Linked DNA regions of Homo sapiens: all the other regions are linked to region 1. Evidence: promoter capture Hi-C in 16 types of primary human blood cells and fetal thymus (Javierre and others, 2016). All regions are on one chromosome and are shown on one strand. Each heading gives the region's core, a stretch centred on a gene start or on the middle of the fragment in contact. The rest is flanking DNA. Distances are from core to core; before and after follow the strand shown. Region 1 holds the start of GATA6-AS1 (GATA6 antisense RNA 1 (head to head)). Region 2 has its middle 220 kb from the start of RBBP8. Region 3 has its middle 240 kb from the start of RBBP8.

What was found. Contacts are between HindIII fragments. The CHiCAGO score rates a contact against its expected background, and 5 or more counts as called.
Region 2: a contact is called between a fragment that was not itself captured here and the fragment with the promoter of GATA6-AS1 in region 1, in 2 of 17 cell types (endothelial precursors and megakaryocytes). The highest score is 7.6, in endothelial precursors.
Region 3: a contact is called between a fragment that was not itself captured here and the fragment with the promoter of GATA6-AS1 in region 1, in 1 of 17 cell types (endothelial precursors). The highest score is 8.1, in endothelial precursors.

The regions. Positions count from the first base shown.
Region 1 is chr18:22,167,157-22,170,217 of GRCh38, reverse strand. It overlaps GATA6-AS1 (GATA6 antisense RNA 1 (head to head)), which reads left to right and starts at 1,250. Exons shown (of 2, transcript NR_102763.1): 1 at 1,250-1,551; 2 at 1,835-3,061. GATA6 (GATA binding protein 6) reads right to left here and starts at 629. Exons shown (of 7, transcript NM_005257.6): 1 at 536-629. RefSeq lists an enhancer at 2,481-2,984. The HindIII fragment of the contact is 8,900 bases long and covers 1-3,061 here.
Region 2 is chr18:22,707,964-22,711,024 of GRCh38, reverse strand. No RefSeq gene overlaps it. Among named protein-coding and RNA genes, the nearest start is that of RBBP8, 220 kb to the left of the region's middle. The HindIII fragment of the contact is 7,836 bases long and covers 1-3,061 here.
Region 3 is chr18:22,691,160-22,694,220 of GRCh38, reverse strand. No RefSeq gene overlaps it. Among named protein-coding and RNA genes, the nearest start is that of RBBP8, 240 kb to the left of the region's middle. The HindIII fragment of the contact is 1,929 bases long and covers 622-2,550 here.

The DNA.
Region 1 (3,061 bases), core at 1-2,500:
GAGAAAAGGAGGGGGAACGCAACGGGCTGGGGAGGGGGGAGCGTGAGACCGCCCCAGAGCCGAGGCGACCCCAAATGGGAGAGCAGGAAGAATGACAGGGAGACTCGGAGCGAGTGGGGGAGGGAGGTGAAATGCAGCCGGGCTGGCCTCCTCCAGGCTGCTCTTCCAAATCGCCTCGGCTCATCGGAGATTACCACACTAAAATTAATGCCCACACACAGACCTGGCTAGATAGCAAGAAAGAAGTTTCTCTGCCTGCCTAACTACCGGCTCCCGCCCCTTTGCGCCGAGATAACTCGGAGATAAGGCTGCGCGCAGATAAGCGCTTCGAGGAGAGAAAAAGAGACTAGAAGTTGGTCCGCGGTGTCCCGGGAGCCTGGGAGCCGCCTCAGCCCGCCCGGAGGGAAGGAGGGAAACACCGTCGGAGCCGACCGCGGCCTGGAGAGGGCCGGAGAGCCGGAGGCCAGGGGCCCGCGACGAGTAGGGGTGGAGGGGAGGAAAGCGGGGAGATCGCGCGAGGAGGAAGCAGCCGAACCTCGGGCGGGCGCTGCGCATGGAGAACGGCCGCGGCGGAGGGTGCTCCCAGGCGCGGAGAGAAGCCGAGGGCGCCAGCGGGCGAGCGCGAGTCCGGGGTCTGCGCCGCGCTGCTGGTGAATAAAAAGGAGAGAGGAGGCGCCTCTTACTGCTCTGCCGGAAAACTGCAGCCTGGGCTCCTGATTGGACTCACCGAGCCCTAAACAAACAGCGCTCGCCGAAGGGTGCCAGGCTGTGGGTCGGAACTGCGCTCAGCGAGCAGCTGGGCGCTGGAGGTGAAGAGGAGGAGGAGGGATCGAGGGGAGGAGAGAAAAGAGGGTGGGGAGGGGACGGCGAGGGGGGAGGGGAGCGCGCCGCCCAGGCAGACAATGAGAGCCGCGCTGCCTGCGGGCGTGGGCTGAGCCGCAAGCCCTGTCCCCGGAGTGGGGGCGAGTCCACCCGGGGGGCACCGAGCCCAGGGACCCCGGGGGAGGGGCGGAGGCCACAGAACGCCTGACCTGGCTAGCGACCCGCACCCATCCAGCGGCGGTGCACCCTCCCGCTCCCGCAGTCGCACACACACACCCACACGAGGGAGGGGGAGGGAGCCTTGGCACGGGAGGAGTTGGCAGTGCACAGTCCCGCGCCGCCGCCGCGGCGGGAGGGGCGCTCCAGACCTTGGGTCAGCACGCCCCCAGAAGGAAGGGGGAACGTGCTCTGCGCCCCCCCGCCCCCCAACCCCCGCCTAGCCCCTTCACAGCAAATGCGCTTTTTGCCCTGAAGTTGTGTGAGACCGACCTTAAACTTTCTCCGACCCTATCTCGGGATGCTACGGCTCAGGTCGTGGTGGTTTCGGGAACCTCAAGACAACATTCCCCAGCTGACCTTTGGGAACTTTAACTCGGGTCGTCATGTACGGAAAGGTAGTCTATGGGGTACGCAGAATGGAAAAGGGCTTCCACATCAGTCGTGTCCGAGGACGCTCTCCAACTTTTGATGTCCCTGGAGAGTTTCTGATATTTCCCTGGAGAGTTTCAGGTAAGTCACAGATAAGTCACTGCGAAGAGGGGGTGTCACCTTCCCTGGACCCAGCGCTAAATGCTGCTTCCCCACCCCCACGTTCATATACACACCCCCTCTTCGCTCCCTCCAAACAGTTATCACAACTCTGTACAAACTGATACGGTCCCTAGCGGGCAAAAGGGACTGGAAATGAACGTCGCGGGGTTATCAGCGCCGATCTGTCAGCGGCAACTCGCGCGGCCGCAGGCTCGTCCGCTGCAGGAGCCGTGATATATGTCTCGCTCCCTTTCGCTTACAGAAAGGATTTCTTCCGACAGACGTGACCCCAGAAGGCTGCCGAGGGAGACTTTAGGACAAGAGGCGTTGTTTTTGTGAGAATGAATTTTTATACTTTACCCCGACCCCACCCCCTACCCCCCGCCCAGGTAAATCCAAGTAAATGATTTTCTGAAGGTCGGTCTCCTAGAAAGCGTTTAGGCTCTGGTTTTTTGTTTTGTTTCTATTTTCGTGTTTTCCCAGTTAGGGAAGGAAGAGGAGCCTGTGCAGAGTTGAACTGGGGTGGAGAGGTGCCTTGTAAAGTATGGTTTCCAGAGATGGTGAGACCTCGTAGCTAAGCGTTGTTTCCTCTGCACGTAACTGTGAGTTGTGAACTTGTGGCTCCTGGGGGAGCGGGACAGGGCCTGGCAGTGCGGGGGAGGGGGCAAGGAATTCAGGAAGTTGGCGAGAATTCTTCGTTTTTCATTCTTCGTTGTAAATTGCTTCTAAACACTTCTGAATTTTAAATTGCTACCGAGAAGGTCCAGAAACCGTTCTCATCCAATTTAGTCACTTTTATTACGTTCCACTTTGCCTCCCCCAATCACTGCGGCGGCTCCCAGTTTCAGCGTGGCCGCATTTGGAAAAGGCTGAAGGTAGAAAACTCTGGAATGGAGAGGCTGGCGACTGGAGCAGGATCCAGGGGCTTTAAATTTTAACCTGAATGCGATCGAATGCGCGACTCCCAGAAGAGATAGCCAGGCGTCCGCCCGGCCGCTCAACCCCCGCCAGGACTCGGAATGCCTTGCTTTTGGTTCTTTTCGTGAGTTCCGACCAAATGTTTAAGTGGACTGGGTTTTGCAGAAGCTCATTTGTAAGCACTGACGGAAATGGGTTGTGGGCATTTGATTTCCTTTGATTCCAACGTTTTGAAATAATGTTTCTCGGATTTGCTATTCGAAGCAATTTTCTAAAAACTCATATCTTATTTGCTAAAAATAAACTCTTTGGCTCAGTTTGTGTCCAGGCTGTGTACGGCCTCCAACCCTGAGCCCCGAGGAGATCGAGCCCTGGCGCGAGCCTGATCTCTGTCCTGTGTGTTTCTTTGTATTTGCAAGTACAAGGATGTCTGCGTGGATATCCCTGGACACTCGATACCCCCCGGGGACCTGCTTTTCCCGCAGCTCCGCAGACGCGGCGGGAGGGCGCGCTGGCCCCGGCGCTGCTGGGACAGAGGTGAGCAGCGGGGTGGACATTGACCGATTCGACA
Region 2 (3,061 bases), core at 275-2,774, 540 kb before region 1:
TTACTTTCTATTTGACTTCCTTTGGAATGAGAAGGAATGAGGGATATCTTTTACACTTTAGAGCTTCCAAAGGGCTTTCTGAGGCTACATCCCTTCTAATTCTTAGAGTAACTTATTGTTATTTATTTATTAATTTATTTTAGCTGACGGAACATGTGATTTAAAGAATTAGTGACTCAGAGGTGCTTGCAGGAATCTAGGAATTCCCAGGCTGAATCCCTCCCTCCAAAGACCCAGAACTCTCTCACAAACTTGGGAGCGCTTGCACTTCTCCCTATACCCATGGCTTTAATGGGTGCCAAAACACTGCATTGAATGCAACTGAAATATAGGATTAATATTTTCAAAAGGCACTTAAGATAAATGGCTTTATAAAAAAGAAAAAAAACCAAGAAACACTGAAAATGGCACGTCTTTCTAATGTCTCAATCTGCTATCAGTAGTTACCCCACTATTCTCCTAATCTCCCATTTCAAAAGAAAATCATCTTTGATGACCTTTCCTCCTTGTTTACTGGTCTTAACTGCCCTATATTACTGGTCCTACTGGTCCCACGTATAGTGAGAATATGCAGTGTTTGGTTTTCTGCTCCTTTGGAAAATCAGTTTTGATCAAGAGCCCTGACACATCTGAAAAGACAGTGGAAATAAAATTACTTCTGACATCGTGGTTTTCCCTCACTAGTTTAGAACCAACATAAGAGAAATGTTTGAATGCCCAACTTAGCAGCAATTCAAATGAATCCCACAAGAACAGGAAACCAAGTGGAAGTTCAAATATAAGGTATGCCCTAAAGTTGCCATCAATAATCCCTGAAATGAAAACAATGAAATTGGAATATTGTTTGGGTAGCCCTCCCACCTGGTAACTAAACCAGGAATCAGCCTATTTTCATCATTTCCAGTTGAAGAACTAGCAAAGTGGAGAAAGTCCAACAGAAAGTGGGCAGTGATGTTTGCTCCTTTGTCAATGACAAAATCATGTAGCAATTTCCTGGCCTGCAAAAACATCCCAATAAATCTCTTCTGTATATCATTAGGAAGAAGTTTTGTGGAGCTGGGTGGACTTCAGAAGGCTGCTAACCTTGAGCAGCTCTGCTGTTATCCTGCCCTTATTGCTCAATGGAAAATTCAGCAGAATCACCAAGTAACAGGAGACTAGGTTCAGGGCCATAAATCTCCAAGAGATGCTCACTGACATCCACGGTGCTCTGCAGAATGAGTCTAACAAGGTCATTCTTGCTGAGCTTCCTTTCAGTTGGAGGCTACAGCTCACTGTCAGGCCCAGAGCCAGGCTCTCTATCATCGAGAAAACCCAAGGGTCAGGGGTGGGAGGCTGTGAAAGGTAACTTTTAGGCTGGGCCCCAGTGTCAAATGGAACCTGGGTGGAAGCCCTATACAGAACGTCAGCTCCTTGGAGTCCTCTGATCCTTTTTTTGCACCTGCTACTTTAGCCTTACCATGCAGTCTTCCAGGGACTTCCCACATTCATTGCATCAAATGTAAACTTCTGGCCACTGTCTTCAAAGTCTTCTCATTTTACTTCAAACATCAGAGCATACCTTTGACTCACTCTTGGGTCTAGCCACAGTGTTCTTTTGATATCTGCACGTGGCTTTCTCTATTCTAAACCTTTCTTACCCATCAATGCAATGACTGAATTCCTTTTCTTTGAATTTGCTGGAGGTGACGAAAATACCAAAGAACAAGGAGAGTAGCAGGGGCCAGAAGCATATTTGGGAGCCCTTTTGTAGCAATAGTGGGAGAGGGTGGTGAGAATCCAACCAATATGAGAAATCCAGGCCAGGCATAATGGCACACGCCTGTAATCCCAGCACTTTGGGAAGCTGAGGTGGGTGGATCACCTGAGGACAGGAGTTTGAGACCAGTTGAAACCCCATCTCTACTAATAATACAAAATTTAGCTGGGTGTGGTGGCACCCGCCTGTAATCCCAGCTACTCGGGAGGCTGAGGCAGGAGAATCGCTTGAACCCGGGAGGTGGAGGTTGCAGTGAGCTGAGATGGCGCCACTGCACTCCAGCCTGGGCAACAAGAGTGAGACTCCACCTCCAAAAAAAGGAAAAAGAAAAAGAAATCCAGTCAGCAGGAAGATGGGGCTCACTCTACCTGGGAATGTAGGACGGTGTCTTAGAGCTGCCGCAGAGCTGCAGTGGGAGGATTAGGGACTCTGGAGCACTTGTGTTCTGCATTCGTCTTGTATAGACACTGACGTGTTATTTCATTTGCTCCTCACTGCAGTGTCATGAGGTAGACAAAGCAGGCATTATTGTTCCCATTTCGGAAGTGAGACAACTGAGACTTAGAGAGATTACATCACCTTGCCCAGTAAGTTTGAACCCAAGTGTTGTCATCATTAACTACATACTGTATATTTTATGTCAGATTCAATAGTTTCTGATGTAAAGGCCCAGATTTTAAGTGTTTTAGGCTTTGTGGGCTACACGGTCCTTATCACCACCAGTCTGCTCTGCTATTGTAGCATGCAGTTATTCATACAATACATTAAAATGGGGGCATGGCTGTGTTCCAATAAAGCTCTATTTACAAACATAGGTGGTAGGTTGGATTTGGACCCTATCCTATGCTAGAAAGCTATAACCGATTTTATGTGAAGAGTAAAGATTCACAGGGTATTAAATACACTTGTGCATTTTAATTCTCAAAAAGTAAATATTGGCCGGGCGTGGTGGCTCACACCTGTAATCCCAGCACTTTGGGAGGCCGAGGTGGGCGGATCACGAGGTCAGGAGATCAACACCACCCTGGTTAACACGGTGAAACCCCGTCTCTACTAAAAAAAGTACAAAAAAATCAGCCGGGCATGGTGGTGGGCACCTGTAGTCCCAGCTACTTGGAAGGCTGAGGCAGGAGAATGGCGTGAACCCGGGAGGCGGAGCTTGCAGTGAGCCGAGATCGTGCCACTGCACTCCAGCCTGGGCGACAGAACGAGACTCCGTCTCAAAAAAAAAAAAAAAAAAAAAGTAAATATTAAGTAACAGAGTGTAAAGGAACACAGCCTAACCTAATGTGATTCATGTAA
Region 3 (3,061 bases), core at 337-2,836, 520 kb before region 1:
AAAATAATATTTTAAGTCAATGAAAGCCATGGAAGATAGGGAATACATGGTTAGGAAGGAATGAATGCAGGCATGGTCATTTGTTCACTCACTCACTCATTCATTCATCTATCCAGAAAGAATTTTTGAATACCTGCTATATATTTAGCATGTCCCCAGAGTCTTCTTTTTTGGGAGTAAATGATGGCGCAGTCTCCAATGGTAGGAGAGGTATCTAGGTGAGGAGGCAATACAAACCCACTCAGTGATTGGGGGAAGCTTAAACAGCAACCTGTGCACAAATTCAAGAAAGCCTGGAGTCATCTTTGCTGGGAGCCATGAAGAGAAATGATGGATGACAGGCAGGAAGGTGTGAATTTCAAATGTGCTGACAGTTGGCCGAAGGTGTCTGTGTGTGGAGTTCATGTCAACTGCATGCTCAGCAAAACATCTTATTGTCAATGGCCCTGGGAAAATGGTCTCTTGTTAGCATCTTTCAATGACAACTACATGAAGGAGTCACTTGAATTTTTCCCTTGTCTAGATGTAGTGACTTGTGACCTAAGGAGTGCTAGTGAGTAGACAGTTATGGCAAACCTAGTTTCACCAAAGGAAGAATCCTCATTCTTTGCCCTAAAAGCTTGCTAGTTATGATGGAATGAATGAATGTAACACTAGCAGAATGCCGGAAGTCTTTAAGATGCCTGGACTGCAGGACCAGAAGCTCAGAATTCTGGGGGTCATAAACGTTTGACTTCTTCAGCGGAGATGGTTACATATGTTTTATTCATAAGACCCGTTGTCCACATTAGGTTATGGTGTTGAGAAGGGTCAACAAGCCTAGAAATATGTATTGTTCAATTCAGTAAATACCTATTGAATTGAATCAAGGCAGAATAGAAGTGTTTCCAGGTGCCTTGTCTTCTCCAAATGACTTTTTTTGTGTGCCTAGTAAGAGAATACTTGAGTTGACATCATGCCAAGTTTCAACCGTTGGTCATATATTTTCTAGATAAATGACTCTCGCTCCCCCTTTGGATTTCAGAGAGGAAAGACTCTCAAATTTGGGATGGGGCCCCAAGGACCTTCTTAAGTAGCGTTGACAAGTCTCCAGATGGGTTAAGGATATTCCTGATGTTAGGCACTGAGAAGTCTAGCCCCACAGTGTGCGCACACACTACCAAATCTTAGAAGACCATTTGTTAACAATATATTTTCATTATATTTTTAAGATTCTTCTTGGGTGGCCAGAATTTTAGCCATCAGCTGTAGGCTGGGATTGGGTGATAAAAACTCCATGCCTTCAATATTAAAACAGAGATTGGAGTCAAAAGAGGATCCATTCATCCTAGTCCCATTCCCTCCCCCTACTCCCTACTCACATGTTTTTATTGCACTCATGATCGCTAGTACTATTTACATTTTAAAGGCCAGTGGGATTTGAAGGCCTGTGCCTATCCATATTCTATATATTGGTACTGGGAGCTTATGTTAGATTTGAATTTTCTTACAAATAAGGCCAGCTGTCTCTGGGTCTGTAATGCTCTTTTAGGATCTTGGGGAAAAAAGGAGCCAGGCTGATATGAAGATTACTCAGCTCCCTTCCCCACCCACAGACATCTCTACCCATTCACTGAATGATTTGCAAGTGAGCTATGAAGAGAACTTCCCCGCCAGAGGTCTTAAACTATACATAAGGATATTTTGCAAGAGCAGCAGAACAGAAACAAGTTCAAAAGGACAGAGGAAAAATGCTCCAAATCTGTGGCAAACAGGATTTCACTGAAATTTACAGGATTCTTTGGATATGCCTTTGATTCATGCACTTATTTCCCAACACTTTGAAACTATTTCAAGTAGTATTAAAATAAATAAAAACTTTTCTCTGTAATGAAAAATTTAAAATGTCTACTTTTATAGACAAATTGAAAAATGACTATTGCTTAAGTTTGTTTTCTTAAGCTGAGTGTTTTTTTAATTGGGGGGATGGTTATAAGAAACTACATTCTCTCTTTCGCTCAACAATAAATGAAAAACACACTTTGTGATTTAGCCAAAGGAAGTTAAAGATGAATCTTTAGGGAGAGGAAGTCATGCAACTGTTATCATGTTAATCTTCCACTGTAAGAGTGGGGCTAAGAGCCAGATTTGCTGTTTATAGCAAATGAACAGAACTTGAATGGTTAAAGAAATCCTCCAGTTCTCAGATCTGGTGCCTGTAAGCCAGCTTGACATGTTTTCTAGTGTCCTTCTCCTTCACACATACTAAATACTTGAAGTGACTAGAGATGAAAGTTGGGTTATTAGATATGAAATGCCTCCTCATTTATTCCTCTTCAGTAAATGTCTCTGTGTAATCATGACCATAAGCCACCACGAAATTGCATTTCTATGTTAGTTTTACTGGACAATTCTCTCTTCTTAGTCTCTGCCTCAATTTTCTAATCTATTAATGGGAACAATGAAAGGCAAATGGAAGGGGGCATGTGATGACTTTAGTTTGGCATGGAAGCAGGGATGTGGATTAAGTGGTAGGAAAGACCTTTCCCATTTTCTATTTAATTCTAAGCTTCGTTATTTGTTTGAGTGTCTTTGAAATTCCTCTTTCATTGGGTCTCAGTTTCTTTCTTTGAGTTGAGTTCAATACCTTAGCTTAGTGATGATAATGTAAGAATACTTTTTTAATGGTTGAATTATCCTAAGATGAAAGGCATGATTAATAAAGAAGAGAGTAATTTGGGGGAACACTAAGAGAGATGATGGCATATTGGAAGAAAGTAGTCTGGGAGGCTAGCATTCTAGTTTCTACTAGTAACTTGCAGTGAGTTTTCAGTAGATCTCTCAATGGCTCCAAATTGGTTTTCTCAAAGTGACATGATAAAGTTATAGCAAATGACCTCTAAGAGCCTTGAAAGATTCAATTGAATTGGCATTATTCTGCCTTCCAGCTCTTGGTTCACCATAATTTTGTTTTTTGATTCATTCAGCAGATGTCCACTAAATGTGTACCATGTGTCAGGCCTGTTCTAGTAGGTAGAGATTCTGCAGTGAACAAAACTGACAAAGGTCATCTCCTATGGAG